5 separate regions of the Homo sapiens genome follow, and regions 1, 3, 4 and 5 are each linked to region 2. The links are contacts of gene promoters, found by promoter capture Hi-C in blood cells and fetal thymus (Javierre and others, 2016). All regions are on one chromosome and are shown on one strand. The core of a region is centred on a gene start or on the middle of the fragment in contact, and the rest is flanking DNA. Distances in the headings are between cores, read along the strand shown.

Region 1 (2,773 bases), core at 179-2,678, 2.0 Mb after region 2:
CCAAGCTTTGAAAGGAAAATGGTTCACCCAAGAGCTTTCTTGTGAGTGCCTGAGGTTGGACTTAATTAAGCTCAAGACTTTGGGATTCCAAAGACCCTGCATTTTACCAGGATACCAAATTGTTCCTCTGAGAATCCCAAGTGAATAAAAAGAGCCAACATCGACTATGCCCAGCACCGTGTGCTACATGCTTTTTATAAATTATTTCATCTAGTTCTAACAAACAAATGAAGAAGCAAAGAAAACACCCTGGGAGGTAGGTATTGTTGTTATCATTCCTATTTTACAAATAAGGTAGGTGTTGGGTGCTGTGGCTCATGCCTGTAATCCCAGCACTTTAGGAGGCTGAGGCGGGCAGATCACCTGAGGTCAAGAGCTCAAGACCACCCTGGCCAACATGATGAAACCCTGTCTCTATTAAAAATACAAAAATTAACTGGGTGTGGTGGCGGGCACCTATAATCCCAGCTACTTGGGAGGCTGAGGCAAGAGACTCAATTAAACCTGGGAGGCGGAGGTTGCAGTGAGCCAAGACCATGCCATTGCATTCCAGCCTGGGTGACAGCATGAGATTCTGTCTCAAAAGCAACCGAAAACCAATTAAGGGAGGTGAGGCCCAGAGCAAGAAGGTCCACAAAGATGACATGGAGGTTAAGTGGCAGACCTAAGGCTCAAACTCAGACCTTTCTGCCTCCAGACCTCCAGAGCCCAGGCTCTTATCCATTAGGCTACACTGACTCTCAGCTGTCATTTAAGGGAGACTATGGTGATGTAGGGCTGGGAAGGGGGAGCAGGTTAGCCACAGAGAACTAGTGAAAATGCACCATTGGATCTAGTTCATTCACACCCCTAGCCATGCCACCGGAATTGGAGGTGACTTCGTATACGTGGTTTGTTTTTCTTTTTTTTTTTTTTTTTGAGACAGAGTCTCTGTCTCCCAGGCTGGAGTGCAGTGGCATGATCTCGGCTCACTGCAAGCTCCGCCTCCCGTGTTCACGCCATTCTCCTGCCTCAGCCTCCCGAGTAGCTGGGACTACAGGCGCCCACCACCACACCCGGCTAATTTTTTGTATTTTTAGTAGAGACGGGGTTTCACCGTGTTAGCCAGGATGGTCTCCATCTCCTGACCTCGTGATCCGCCCGCCTCGGCCTCCCAATGTGCTGGGATTACAGGCGCGAGCCACTGCGCCCGGCCCACATGGTTTGTTTTCTAAGTGATTATCTCTCCGTGGAGGCCTGTAATTGTTTCTGTCCTATTTTACCTGAGCATCTCCTCCCCCTACTGAATTACCCAATTCCTAACAAGTTCTCTGTTCAAGGTCCCCCTTCGCTGTGGCCAGAAGCCAAGTTCTGCTGGGTGCACAATCCTGCGGATCACCTGATCAGAGAGAACTGAACCTACAAAAGAGAGCTCAACCTCCTTTTCCATACCTACCAGGGACCTAGTTCAGCTACGTCCTAAACAGTACCAGGTAAGACAGAGGTGAAGGTCAGCTTCTATCTGTGTGTGTGTGTGTGTGTGTGTGTGTGTGTGTGTGTGTGTGTGTGTGTAATCCAATTTTAAGTTCTGGCAATGCTACTTTTAAGTTGAGTGACCTTGGGCAAGTCACTTAACTTCTTGGCACTTCATTTTAGAGGCAAAATGACAATGGTGATATTGGGTGAGAGGAATAAATAGGAACGTACATGTAATATGTTTAGCACAGTGGCTGGCATGTAAATGGGGACTGGTTTAGTGTCAGGCAGCTCTGAATGTGGTGAGCCGTGGGAGACAGGCACAAAGTCAGAGATGAATGTTTGAAGGAAATCTTTTCTATCTATGCAGAAGTTGGCTCACTTTCTATAAAGTGAATGCCTTCTAAAAAAAATTATCCAAGCATAGTAATACATGCCTGTGGTCCCAGGTACTTGAAAGGCTGAGGCAGGAGGATGACTGTAGCCCAGGAGATTGAGGCTGCAGTGAGCTATGATCACACCACTGCACTCCAGTCCAGGTGACAGTTTCAAAAAAAATGGTTAACATCTAATGGGGAGGGGGTTGGCTTCAGAATTTGCTGGGAGTTAAAAGGTACCTCAACATTTATTGAGTCCTTACCGTGCACTTCATTCAGTGCCAGCAAGTAAATTATCACACTAATCCTTATGGGGAGCTGGGAAGAAGGTATTACTACTGTGCGCTTAAGTTCAGAGACATGAACAGCACCAAAGACCCAGCTGCTAGACAACAGAGACAAACATCTAGCCCTGGCTCTGTAACTCTGGGATACCCTATAACACAGTAAGTATGTTGCTTCATTAAATAGCTTTATCAGTCCCAAGTCCTGTGAAGTCAAAGCTTAGTTGCAGGAGCTGTTCAAGGCACTATGTATCTGGGAATACAGTGGGGAGCCCAGCTGCCTCTCAAAGCTACCATGTCAAATTGCTTTCAGAATGCACTTTAAGCAGTTCAGAAAATTGTTCTTTAAAATGATTTCATAGGATGTGCTTTAATGATATGCTCTAACAGGGTAGGAACTCTTTCAGTTTAATTAATCTCCAATAGTATCTAAAACTGTACATGGTACATCTATAGTAAATACTTGAGAAAGAAAAAATACATTTTTCTATAACTCAGATAATTTGTGGGCACACTGGCTTTTCTCTTTCTGACTTTCATCACTCAGTTTTCTGAATTATGACAAAGAAGGGAAGAATCTAACTTTTTGTTGAGCACTTACTATGTCCAGCACGGTGAGAAATAGACAAACTAAGCTTTGTGAAGTCAAATCTGAAG
Region 2 (2,845 bases), core at 128-2,627:
AATTTTAATGTATGTAAATTATACCTCAATAAAGCTGTTAAAAAATAAATAATAAACCATGAAAAAATAAGCAAGAGAAAAGAGGAAACCATGATGCTGTTAGATTGGGGATTATATGGTTTGGATATTTGTCCCCTCCAAGTCTCATGTTGAAATGTGATCCCCAGTGTTGGAGTGGGACCTGGTGCGATGTGTTTGGGTCATGGGGGTGGATCCCTGATGAATGGCTTGGTGCCCGCCTTGCAGTAATAAGTGAGTTCTTGCTCTTAGTTCACATGAGATCTGGTTGTTTAAAAGAGTCTGGCACCTCCCCCTCTCTCTCTTGCTCCCTCTCTTGCCATGTGACACATGGGCTCCCCCTTCGCCTTTCGCCATGATTGGAAGCTTCCTGAGCTCCAAGACAGCACCATGCTTCCTGTACAGCCTGCAAAACTGTGAGCCAAAATAAACCCCTTTTCCTTATAAATTACCCAGACCCCAGACTTAGGCATTTCTTTACAGCAATGCAAAGCAGACTAACACAGGGGGAAAGGATGCTGGACTGGGAGAGAAAAACACTCACATATATTACCCATTTTTACACATTAGGAAAATAAGAAACAATGACTTGCCCTATGTCACCCAGCTAGTAAGTGGGGGAGCCCAGATGCAAACTCCCAACTCTTTGGCCCCAAACGCATGCTCTTAACCCCTCCGCCATGTGATCTTTCTTCCCTTTTGCACAGCCTCTCACCAGTCAGCCCCACTGTATGTAGGGAGACCATGAGGGACTCTTCTCACATTGCTACGTGAGCAGAATCCTCATCTGTCTGACATCTGCTGAAAACACAAGCAAAAGACACTCTGAGGCCTGATGTCTTCCGACGGTTCATTGAAGTTGCAGTTGTTACTTTCCCTTGAACTGTGCAAACGCTTGGTGTGCTCGGGTTGATTTGGTGCTTTTTGTATATTGCTCATCTGGCAGAGAATTACTACTCTGCTCTACAAGTTCCCACAGATGGCTTTATTTTCCATTGCTATTAAATTGGTTTTGAACAAGACATAATTCTTCAAGTGCCTGGTGTGCTCTCTGGGTTTGCTCAGGCAAGATTCCATAAAAATGTAAATAATCGGAACACTTCTGGGATTATTTATCACAACTGACTTGTGGCTGTAAATTTATGTATTAATTTCAGCTATAAGCTTCAGTGGGGAAAAGATGAACCATTGAAAATAGTCTCTTCCACCCTAACATCCTCGCTATGTCCCCATTTCCCCTCTGCTTCCAGGGAACGTACCAGAGAATGGCTCACACATCTGGGTCTGAACGACATTGAACAGGCTCGAAAAGGAACCAGGTGGTAAGTGGGGAATAATCACTCCTCAGCAACCCACAGGCTCATCACTTACTGCTCTCCCCTGGGTCTTCGGACCCCAGTCACACCAGCCTTTCACTTGCTCCTGTGGATTCCTGCCCCAGGACCCTTGCACATGCACCCCAGGCTTGTAATGCTCCTTCTTCCCTTTTATGCCTGGTTCACTCTTACTCATCCTTCAGCTCTTGGCTCAGCGTCACTTGTTTGGAGAAGCTTCATCCCCGCCCACCTGCTAGACGAGGTCTCCTCCCAGGTGTTCTTCTCATCCACAGCGCTACTCACAATCACAGTTCCTCATTTTGGGAGGATTTTTAAAACTTAATGTCTGTCTCCCCTACTTGGCTGTAAAAATTTCATGAGGGTTAGGGCTGTGTCTTTGTCGCCTGCATGCCCAGAGCCTGGCACAGAGTTGAAGATGGATGAATGTGTGCAGAACAAACTAATGGATCCACTTGGAATAAGAGCACATAGCAGGGCTCTTGGGGCCTCTGCCCACACGCACTCAGACCACGCTCTGCACACAGCTCCTTGTGTGCTTTCTCTTAGCCAGCACCTGCATGTTGGCAGAGGGCTGCTCTCACTTTGCCTGTGTGTGCTGAGACTGGAGTGCCTGGGAATTTGCACTCCCCTTGGAGGCCAGCCCTTAACCAATTAGTGGTGAAGGCAGGCTTAGAAGCATGCCAGCTGGCCGGGTGGAATGGCTCATGCCTGTAATCTCAACACTTTGGGAGGCCAAGGCAGGAGGATCACTTGAGGCCAGGAGTTCAAATCCAGCCTGGGCAACACAGCAAGACCCTATCTCTACAAAAAAAAAAAATTAAAAATAGCCGGACATGGTGGTGAGTGCCTATAGTCCCAGCTATTTGGGAGGCTGAGGCAAGAGAATTGCTTGAGCTCAGGAGTTTGAGGCTGCAGTGACCTATGATCGCACCATTGCAGTCCAACCTTGGTGACAGAGCAAGCCCCTGTCTCTGAAACATCACGCCAGCTCTCTTGTCTTGATCGGAAAACTGCAAGGAGCAGCCTGAACTCTCCCTGGAGCTGTCCTGGGGACTGAGCCACAGCAGTCCTCCTGTAGGACCTTGCTTGATCCAACACCCTTCTTGGCTTCTTCTCTTCTCCATTCTATTTTCCCACTCCCCTACTAGTGTTTCTGAGAACCCCTCATAATAAATCACTTTTACACAAATCCTCGTCTCAGCGTCTGCTTCCAGGGAGCCCAACCTAAAACAGAGAGTCTTCTGCCTGCAAATATTCTCACTGAGCTGTGATTAAGATCATACATTTTAGAGCATGCAAGCACTCTAACCAGACAGGCCATTTGCTGATTCAGACAAGGATAAAGTCCTGCTAGTAACACTGTAACTGGCAGGGCATATTCATGTCAACAAGCTAAGCCCCTCTAGTCTTGAACCTTCTCCCCGACTAGCCCAGTGCCCCACTGAGACAGCATGAGAAGTCTGTGCCACTGAGATCCCAACCAAACTGGA
Region 3 (2,700 bases), core at 129-2,628, 1.4 Mb after region 2:
CATAAGTTGAAGACCATCCTGGGCAACATGGCAAAACCCCATCACTACAAAAAGTACAAAAATTGCTGGGCATGGTGGTGCACACCTCTTGTCCCAGCTACTCGGGAGGCTCAGATGGGAGGACCACTTGAGCCTGGGGCTCAAGGCTGCAGTCAGCTATGATCTTGACACTGCACTCCAGCCTGAGTGACAGAGTGAGACCCTGTCTCAGAGCAAACATGCACACACACACACACACAAATATCATAGATGTCTTGTCTTCCCCTCTCAAATCTGCTCACTATGACAGGGACTGTGGCTGTCTTGTTGATCACAGTGTGCCCAGTGGCTAGCAAAATATCTCTTATCTTAAGAGATAAGTGGCTGGCACATAACAAATACTGAATAAATGGGTATTCAATTGGATTCACTTGGCTCCTTTATTTACCTTGTCCTTTTCTCTTTCTTTACCCCTCTTGGGTTACGGTTGCCAACACAACCTAGCCCTCTGATAACAGGCAGAACAAGCAGAGGAACTAGCTTACTCCTCCATTAAAATCTGGGCAAAGAGATGGGGTGTGTGTGTGTGTGTGTGTGTGTGTGTGTGTGTGTGTATCTATCCACTAGCCAAAGAAGTGATAGAGTTAAGATAGGCTAAAGAGTCCTTGTAGAGCCAGCAACTCCATTCAAAAGAGCAAGACCCTGTGTCAAAAATAAAAAATAAAAAAATCATGAGCTTGCACTGGGATTGAAAGTTAATAAAAGACTGTGAGATTTTGATGGCATAGATAAAAAAAAAACTAAAACCATGTCATTTGTTCCAACCAAGGTTGGCAACTTAAAACCAAGTAAAACAATGGCCTCTTTGAAAAGAGAAAACTATTTAAATTTCATGAAAAGCATTTTTAAAGGCATAGAATTAAAATATCTTCCCTCTTCCCCATGCAGATAATGCCGTAGTTCAGGGTCTCTCCTCTGATTGTGGCTAAGGGATGAGCCACTCCTATAGTGCCAGTCCTCAGTGAGAAAAGAGAGCATCTCTAGGCATAGTTTTCTCTCTTTCTCTAAAAATCCAATCATTTAGACAATCTAGAAAGAGGATAAAGTATTTGTATTGACGTCCCTGCCTCTTGCTGCTGTCTGCAAAAACCTACCATGAACACTGTTTCCAACAGAAACCATCGGGTTGAACTTACCCTCTACTGCAGATTATCTCTAGGGCTTCCAAGTTCCCATGGTAGGCTGCCAAGAGAGTAGGAGTCATGCCGTCTTCATCCGAAAGATTTAGATCTCGCTTGGTAGCCTCTTTTAGAAGTTCCAGGTAACTATCACTAGCAGCTTGGTGGTAACGAGTAGACATTTTTCCTGCTCACCAGAACTTGGCCAGATGTCTCTCCAGGCAGAGCAAGGTGTTGGCGGAGCAACCTTCCTATAGAGCTGGTTAATTAGTGACAAGGAAGAGTGTCACCAGGGGCAAAGCTCATTTCAACTGCTTCCTTTCACGGAAGGCAACAAGGTTCGAGGCACTGAACTTGGACCTTTTCTCTCTGGAATGGCCATGACGTTGACTATTGAAGACTGCTGTATTCATCTTGAGTGTTTGGAGGTACATTCAATTTTTCTATGTCCATTAGTTTCTTGAGTGTAATATTGGCCATCTAGGCACAGGATGTAAGAAATAATTTCTTAATAAAATGCAGAGCTACTCTAGTTCACTAGCTGTTTTTTCCAAAAAGAACAGCTTTATTGAGGTATAACATCATTAAATTTACCCATTTCATGCATACAATTCAATGATTTTTAGGACATTTATAGAGTTGCATGCCCATTATCATAATCCAGTTTCCATCAGCCCTTAAAGATCCCTCATGCCATTTGCTGTCAATCCCATTTCCACTCCCAACCTCAGGAAACCACAGTCTGCTTTCTGTCTCTATAGATTTGTTTTTTACGGGCATTTCAGACAAATGGAATCCTACAATATATAGTCTTTAGTGTATAGCTTGTTTCAATTCACATACTTTTTTGAGGTTTGTCATGTGTAGCATGTAATGGTTTCTTTCTTTTCACTGCTGAATAATATTCCACTGTGCTAACATACCACATGTTCTTCATCCATTCAATGTTTCATGAATATGATGAATATTTGGGTTGTTTCCATTTTTCAGTAATGATGAATAATGCTGCTATGAGCACTGATGTACAAGTCTCTGTGTGGACACATATTTTCATGTGTCTTGCGTATATATCAAGGAGTGAAACTGCTGGGTTGCATGGCAATTTACATTTAAATTTCAGAAGTTGCCAGACTGTTTTCCAAAGTGGCTGTACTACTTCACATTTCCACCAATAACGTATGAGGGTTTCAATTTCTCCACAACCTTGCCAGCCTTATTATTGCCTATCTTTTTGTTTATGGTCATCCTAGTGGATATGAAGTGGTCTTATTATGGCTTTAATTTTCAATTTCCTAATGACTAAGATATTGAGCATCTTTTCATGTGCCCATTAGCCATTCTTACATCTTCTATTCAAATCTTTTTGCCCAATTTTTAAGTGGTTGTCTTATTAATAAATTATAAGAATTATTTATATACTCTGGATACAAGTCCTATATCAGACATATTTGGAACAGAATGAAAATGAAAATACCACATATCAAGATTTATAGGATGCAGTTAAAGAAAAGCTTAGGGCAAAATTTGTAGTTTTTTATGCATA
Region 4 (2,818 bases), core at 8-2,507, 1.8 Mb after region 2:
AGGGCACTCCGGCCCTGGCTCTGTTTGCTTCAGCCACATGGCCTTCTGGCTGTTTCCAACCTAAAAGTCCTTCTCATTGGCTCTTCTCTCCACCCAGAAAACCCATTGTCTCGGATCCCCGCAAAACCGTGGCCTCCTTTGAACGACCTTACCCGATTTCGAGGGGCCCTCCCCCCATCTTCTGTCACCTCATCCGGTCTTTGGGGGGCATTTCTCACTTGCTGATACCTTCTTTATTGATTTACTTAACTCTCTCCTGCACACGAATGGAAGGTAACGGAGCAACACCCTACTCTCAGGTTTGAAGAGCAAGAGAATTACGAAGCTGGCTCTCACGGTCCTAGGGAGTCTCCGTTCCTGTACGGGACCTGGTGTGGGTCAACGTTCCCCAGCCAGACACCTCTCGCCCCCGGACCGGCCCCTACCATCTCCCATTTACATTCGGGGGTCCAAAAGATTCACAGCCTCCGAGGGGGCCCCACGCCGGCACCTGAGCGTCCCCACACCAGGCCTCCCCTCTTGGACGCGCGAGCCACTTCCGTGAGGCAGGTCCCCGAGGCCGGTGGCGATGACACCGAGCCGCCCCCGCGAAGCTGGGGTCACACAGGCCCGTCTCCCGGCAACGCCGCAGCCCAACCTCCAAACCATCCCTGCCCGTGGGGAGCCAACCCCTTCCCCGCCAGTCTCCCGCGCCTGGAGTCGGCGCCTCCATCCCCTACACTCACTCTGCGTCAGTCCTGCCTTCCCCCACCCACAGAAGCGCGCAGCCCGCGGCGGGCTGGGAGGAGGCGGCGCCAGGAGCCCAGCAGAGCCGTGGCCGACCGAGCACAGGCTGGTCCAGTAGGCCAGGCCGGACCAAACCACCGGGCCCACCTCTGTGGGAGCACCAGTTCCAGGTCTGGGGGAGTCTCGACTGACTGACTCTACCCATCTCCCGCCGCATCCAACAATAAGCTGAGCTCCTCCTCCCCCTATTTTTCCTTTACGCTTTCATTATCCTCCCCGCTCCATTCCCGTAAAACAAGAAAAAAAAATGGTCCAGCCCAGCTCCCTCCGGGTTGCTAGGTCTTTGCCCTTACTTGGCGACGGCTTCGTACGTCTTTATGTGCGTCGTGACGCAATCTTCCACTCGTTCCCTCCTTGCCCCTCTCCCATTCTCCCTCCTGGAGCTGGCGGCCGGCGGGGTTACCGGAAGTGATGATGCAGGAGGCGATGGAGGGGGCGGGGCTTCGGGGCGGCCGCCGCCGGTGGGCCGCAGATGAAGAGGAGGCGGTGGCAGTGGTGGAAGAAGAGGCGGCGGCGGCGGGGGTAGGGAGCCTGGAAACGCGAGCGGGGATGGTAGGTGGTTTGGACCCGCCGGGCCGCCGTCGTTTCCAGAAAGGGTTTGACTGGAGGAACCTCTGGAGCAGCTGTGAGTTTTGGGGAGGGGGGGAGTTGAGGAAAAGGCGGGGGGGCATTGAGAGATGAAGGGGCGGGGGTTGGGTACCTTCGAGAAAGGGGGGTGGAAAGGGAGGAGTGGAAGTCAGCGCGTTGTCTGGAGTGGTACCTCTGAAAGAAGAGGCTGTGAGGGGAGCCTGTGGCGTGTCAGCCGCAGGGCTCAGAAAACTTACCTACTGTCCCTGCCTCCCCACCGCCAGCACCCCTCAACCCAGGGCCTGGGGATATGGGGTTGGAGCTGCCCTGGAGGGGGTGCAGACTCTGGTCCTCTGTCCTGGGTGAGCGCTGTGAGGTAGGAGCCCTAGGGGGAGGTGGTGGGTGAATCTCCCAGCTCCCTCCGCCCTCATTTCCCTCCCCACCCCCATCGTTCTCTTTAATCATTAACAGCCCTGGAATTAAGGGGCTCAGACCTGAAGGCCTTTTTGTGCACCTTTGCTATAAACGATAACCATCTGTGTCCGAGGTAATGAGGCTGGAGGCTTTGCCTGTATCCTCTATAGGAAGTGGGACGGGGTGACAAATGTATTGTTTGTTCCTCCACCACACCCCCCGCACTTCTCACCCCTCATCCTCCCCCATGCACACCCCTGGTTTCCACTTTAATTCTCTGTGGCTGAGTGGCAATAGTGGATTTTTTTTTCTTCCCCTTTCCTCCTTTATGGCACTTAGTGCCTTGGTTACCTCTTTTGAATTTGGTGTTCAGCCTCTATCCCAGATCTTAACTGTAAGCTTTGTAATACTTCATACAGGCTGTCACGTTGGGAGTACCTCTTACGCTCCGATTATAATGAGCATTTTCTTTTATGAATACTGGAATTCCAGAGCCTTTGCAAGGAATCCTGAATGGCATCATAGCCCAGGAATCAAGGTCTCTTGCTCGAAATACTTTATGTGTGAGGAATTTACATGTTGTCAGCTCTTCCCAAAATGATTTGCTAGGCTAATTCTGGATTTCTGTGTTTCTCTCCACCCACTTTTCATGATGCACTTCAGAGAACAGAAAACCCCATATTACTTTTTTGTTTCTACAATTGGACAATAGCTCTTTTATGTTTTTCTCCATTTATGTGTGACACACAAATCATCAGTGACACGTTCAGCTTGTGCTGATTTTCATCTTTACGTAGCTGATTCTTTGTGTATGGGGGTCCTAAATGAGACAGTGTGATCTGTTTAGTTTTGGTTTAAGGGCGAATACAAACCAATAACGGATGTGAAAAAATTATTTGAAGCAAAGAATGGAAAGAAGGCCTCTTTGTTGATATGCTGTTGGTTTAAAAAAAATCAAGGAGCACTCTTCTAGCCTCTCAGACAGATATCAGAGTGAAGTGTTATGATTTTCCTTTTGGTGTTGATACATTCTTCGGAAATCTTTTGTAGA
Region 5 (2,700 bases), core at 139-2,638, 1.5 Mb after region 2:
GCCTTATATCCACCTATTTTGGAACATGGGCTGCAGACATCTAGTTATCTCAAAGAGTGTGAGAGATGTTGAAAAAACACAACCATCAGGCCTCAGGAAATCTGAGTTCTCCACCTGGTCCCTGACATTGTTGGGGCAAGTTGCCTTGCCTCAGTTTCCCCACTGGGAAACTTCCAAGTGCTTTACAACAATATAACATTCTTATTAGATCACTACTCCCTTTTACCCAGAAGTTTTACTTTGAGGAATTTATCTTGAGGGTTACCCAAGGATATGTATCAGAATGCTCATCATGTTACTGCTTATAATGATGAAAAATTACAAGCCACCTTATGCTCATAATTAAGGAAATTATATAAACACAGATTTATCTCAAATTGAATATTATGCCACCCTAAAATGGTAACAGAGAGCTTTATGTTTAATAGTTATAAAGTGACAGTAGCAGATTACAAAACAGTATTTAAACTTTCCTCCCAGTGTTTTAAAAAAATTGTGTGTGGTGTTTGTAGAAACATGTCTAAAGTTACTCACCTAAATATTAGCAGTGGCACTATTATGAGTGACTTTTGCCTTTTCTCTGTATCCTTCTGAAATTGTATCTTTGCGGTAAGCTTAAGCTTTTACACTTGGGGGTCAACAAGGCTTCATTCATTTTTTTAAAGACACTTCCTGTGCATTATCAGGGTAACTTCTGCAGTAGCCAGAAGACTAGATGTTACTTAAAAGGTTTTAGGGTAGGTGCAATGGCTCACGCCTGTAATCCCAGCACTTTGGGAGGCCGAGGCACGTGGATCACCTAGGTCAGGAGTTCGAGACCACCCTGACCAACACGGTGAAACCCAATCTTTACTCAAAATACAAAAATTAGCCAGGTGTGGTGGCGTGCACCTGTAATCCCAGCTACTCAGGAGGCTGAGGCAGGAGAATTGCTTGAACCCAGGAGGCAGAGGTTGCAGTGAGCCGAGATTGCACCAGTGCACTCCAGCCTGGGTGACAGAGTGAAACTGAATCTCAAAAAAAAAAAAAAAATGTAGTGGTGTGAACAAGACTTGTTTTTTTCTCAATAAAGCCCATGATTCTCTTTGGCTCTACATTGCAGTTGTAAATAATTTGCCCAAAAGATCCTAATTTCCCCCATAGTTATAGGGAAAACACCAATTCACTCACCTGGAGCTGATTTCAGCAAACTCTGATTTCATGCCTGGCCCACAGGGCAGCTGGCAGAATACCCGGCGCAAGCTGTCAGGAATCAGAGGCCACTTCCTTCCCCAATCCTTCCGTTTCAGCTGGGAGAATGGGACAAGATTCAGGTGCCCCCAATGGGGAGAGGGTGTGGATGCGGCTGGCTTCCTGCTATAAAAACACAGAGCAGCCTACCCTCTACCTGGTTGATCTGGTAGTGTCTTCTGCTATGGCGTGCAGGCAGAGAGGAGGCTCTTGGAGTCCCTCAGGCTGGTTCAATGCAGGCTGGAGGTGAGTAATTCTGGAAGTGGAGGGAGGGGGTATGGTAGCTTTGTTTGTTAAAGTCCATTCTTCCTTGACTATCTCCCTGTCTCTTTCCAGCACCTACAGGTCGATTTCTCTCTTCTTCGCCCTTGTGACTTCAGGGAACTCCATAGATGTTTCTCAGTTGGTAAATCCTGCCTTTCCAGGTATGTCTCTTGGGTGACAGAAGTCTTCTTAGCAGAGAAAACAGGTTGCAGCTGGAAGGCCTAGCTGGCCAAGAAACACAGGCCTGGCTCAGACAACCTCCATTCACCCCCTTTATTACCTTGGTCAGGTTACTGGATCTTTCTTCTGCTAACCTGTAGACTCACTATACCTGCTAAATGAAAACTCAAACACTTGCACTGCCTTCCAATCCCTCACTGCCTCAAGCTTTATGGTATCCACAGAACAGCAAACCACCACACTAAGCCCTCATCTTTAGGAGCAGCAATCTTCAAACACAAACTCATGCTTAAGGAAAACATCGACATAACAAGCAAAACTGGAGCTGCTCACTTGACGTTCACCTGAGCCAGAGGCTGCAGAGTAGCAGATGATGGGCAAAACTTGATCTTTAAAAAAAAAAAAAAAAATGCAGCCAGGCGCCGGGGCTCACGCCTGTAATCCCAGAACTTTGGGAAGCCAAGGCGGGCAGATCACCTGAGCTCAGGAGTTTGAGACCAGCCTGGCCAATGTGGTGAAACCCCATCTCTACCAAAAATACAAAAACTAGCTGGGTGTGGTGGTGGGCACATGTAATCCCAGCTACTTGGGAGGCTGAGGCAGGAGAATCGCTTGAACCTGGGAGGCGGAGGTTGAGGTGGGTTGAGATCGTGCCACTGCACTCCAGCCTGGGTGACAGAGAGACTCCGTCTCAAAATAAATAAATAAATAAATAAAAGTCCTGGGACTTACCCAGGACTTTGTTTAACATCAATTTGCAAAACCTGTTGACAAAGCTTTTGTCAGTTTTTCGGGCCTGCCTCCATCTGCTCCACTGTCAAGGTGTTGACCTGGCTCCTACAGACCTGCTTGTCAACCCTAACCTGGGCTTCTTACTGGAACACTTCAAAAGCCCTGGGTACCTGATATTTTCCTTACAGTTCTTGGCATATTGTATTGTTGTCTTGGTCACTTGTTTGTGAGCTCTCCCAGGGTAGGGGACGATTCTTGCCTCCCTCATCTGGAATCCCTCCCATCTGAGAGGAG

Evidence for each region. The method cuts DNA at HindIII sites, captures the fragments that hold promoters and counts their contacts. A CHiCAGO score of 5 or more calls a contact.
Region 1: the fragment with the promoter of ACSM1 here is called in contact with a fragment that was not itself captured in region 2 in 2 of 17 cell types (fetal thymus and total B cells); the score reaches 9.3 in fetal thymus.
Region 3: the fragment with the promoter of ANKS4B here is called in contact with a fragment that was not itself captured in region 2 in 4 of 17 cell types (naive B cells, total CD4 T cells, fetal thymus and 1 more); the score reaches 9.7 in naive B cells.
Region 4: a contact is called between the fragment with the promoter of DCUN1D3 here and a fragment that was not itself captured in region 2, in 2 of 17 cell types (naive B cells and M1 macrophages). The highest score is 6.7, in naive B cells.
Region 5: a contact is called between the fragment with the promoter of ZP2 here and a fragment that was not itself captured in region 2, in 9 of 17 cell types (naive CD8 T cells, total CD4 T cells, fetal thymus and 6 more). The highest score is 12.1, in naive CD8 T cells.

The regions. Positions count from the first base shown.
Region 1 is chr16:20,696,335-20,699,107 of GRCh38, reverse strand. It overlaps ACSM1 (acyl-CoA synthetase medium chain family member 1), which reads left to right and starts at 1,428. Exons shown (of 14, transcript NM_001318890.3): 1 at 1,428-1,472. It also overlaps a transcript of ACSM3 not described here. The HindIII fragment of the contact is 2,330 bases long and covers 8-2,337 here.
Region 2 is chr16:22,663,476-22,666,320 of GRCh38, reverse strand. No RefSeq gene overlaps it. Among named protein-coding and RNA genes, the nearest start is that of LINC02890, 51 kb to the right of the region's middle. RefSeq lists an enhancer at 1,484-1,643. The HindIII fragment of the contact is 386 bases long and covers 1,185-1,570 here.
Region 3 is chr16:21,232,377-21,235,076 of GRCh38, reverse strand. It overlaps ANKS4B (ankyrin repeat and sterile alpha motif domain containing 4B), which reads right to left and starts at 1,378. Exons shown (of 2, transcript NM_145865.3): 1 at 1,176-1,378. The coding sequence starts at 1,339. It overlaps LOC105371123 (a long non-coding RNA gene), which reads left to right and starts at 1,475. Exons shown (of 2, transcript XR_001752344.2): 1 at 1,475-1,585. The HindIII fragment of the contact is 3,732 bases long and covers 1-2,670 here.
Region 4 is chr16:20,898,797-20,901,614 of GRCh38, reverse strand. DCUN1D3 (defective in cullin neddylation 1 domain containing 3) reads left to right here and starts at 1,257. Exons shown (of 3, transcript NM_173475.4): 1 at 1,257-1,411. LYRM1 (LYR motif containing 1) reads right to left here and starts at 844. Exons shown (of 4, transcript NM_001128302.3): 1 at 726-844. RefSeq lists enhancers at 1-652, 653-1,438, 1,648-1,697. The HindIII fragment of the contact is 5,697 bases long and covers 1-2,168 here.
Region 5 is chr16:21,210,262-21,212,961 of GRCh38, reverse strand. It overlaps ZP2 (zona pellucida glycoprotein 2), which reads left to right and starts at 1,388. Exons shown (of 19, transcript NM_001376232.1): 1 at 1,388-1,476; 2 at 1,567-1,655. The coding sequence starts at 1,415. The HindIII fragment of the contact is 1,261 bases long and covers 623-1,883 here.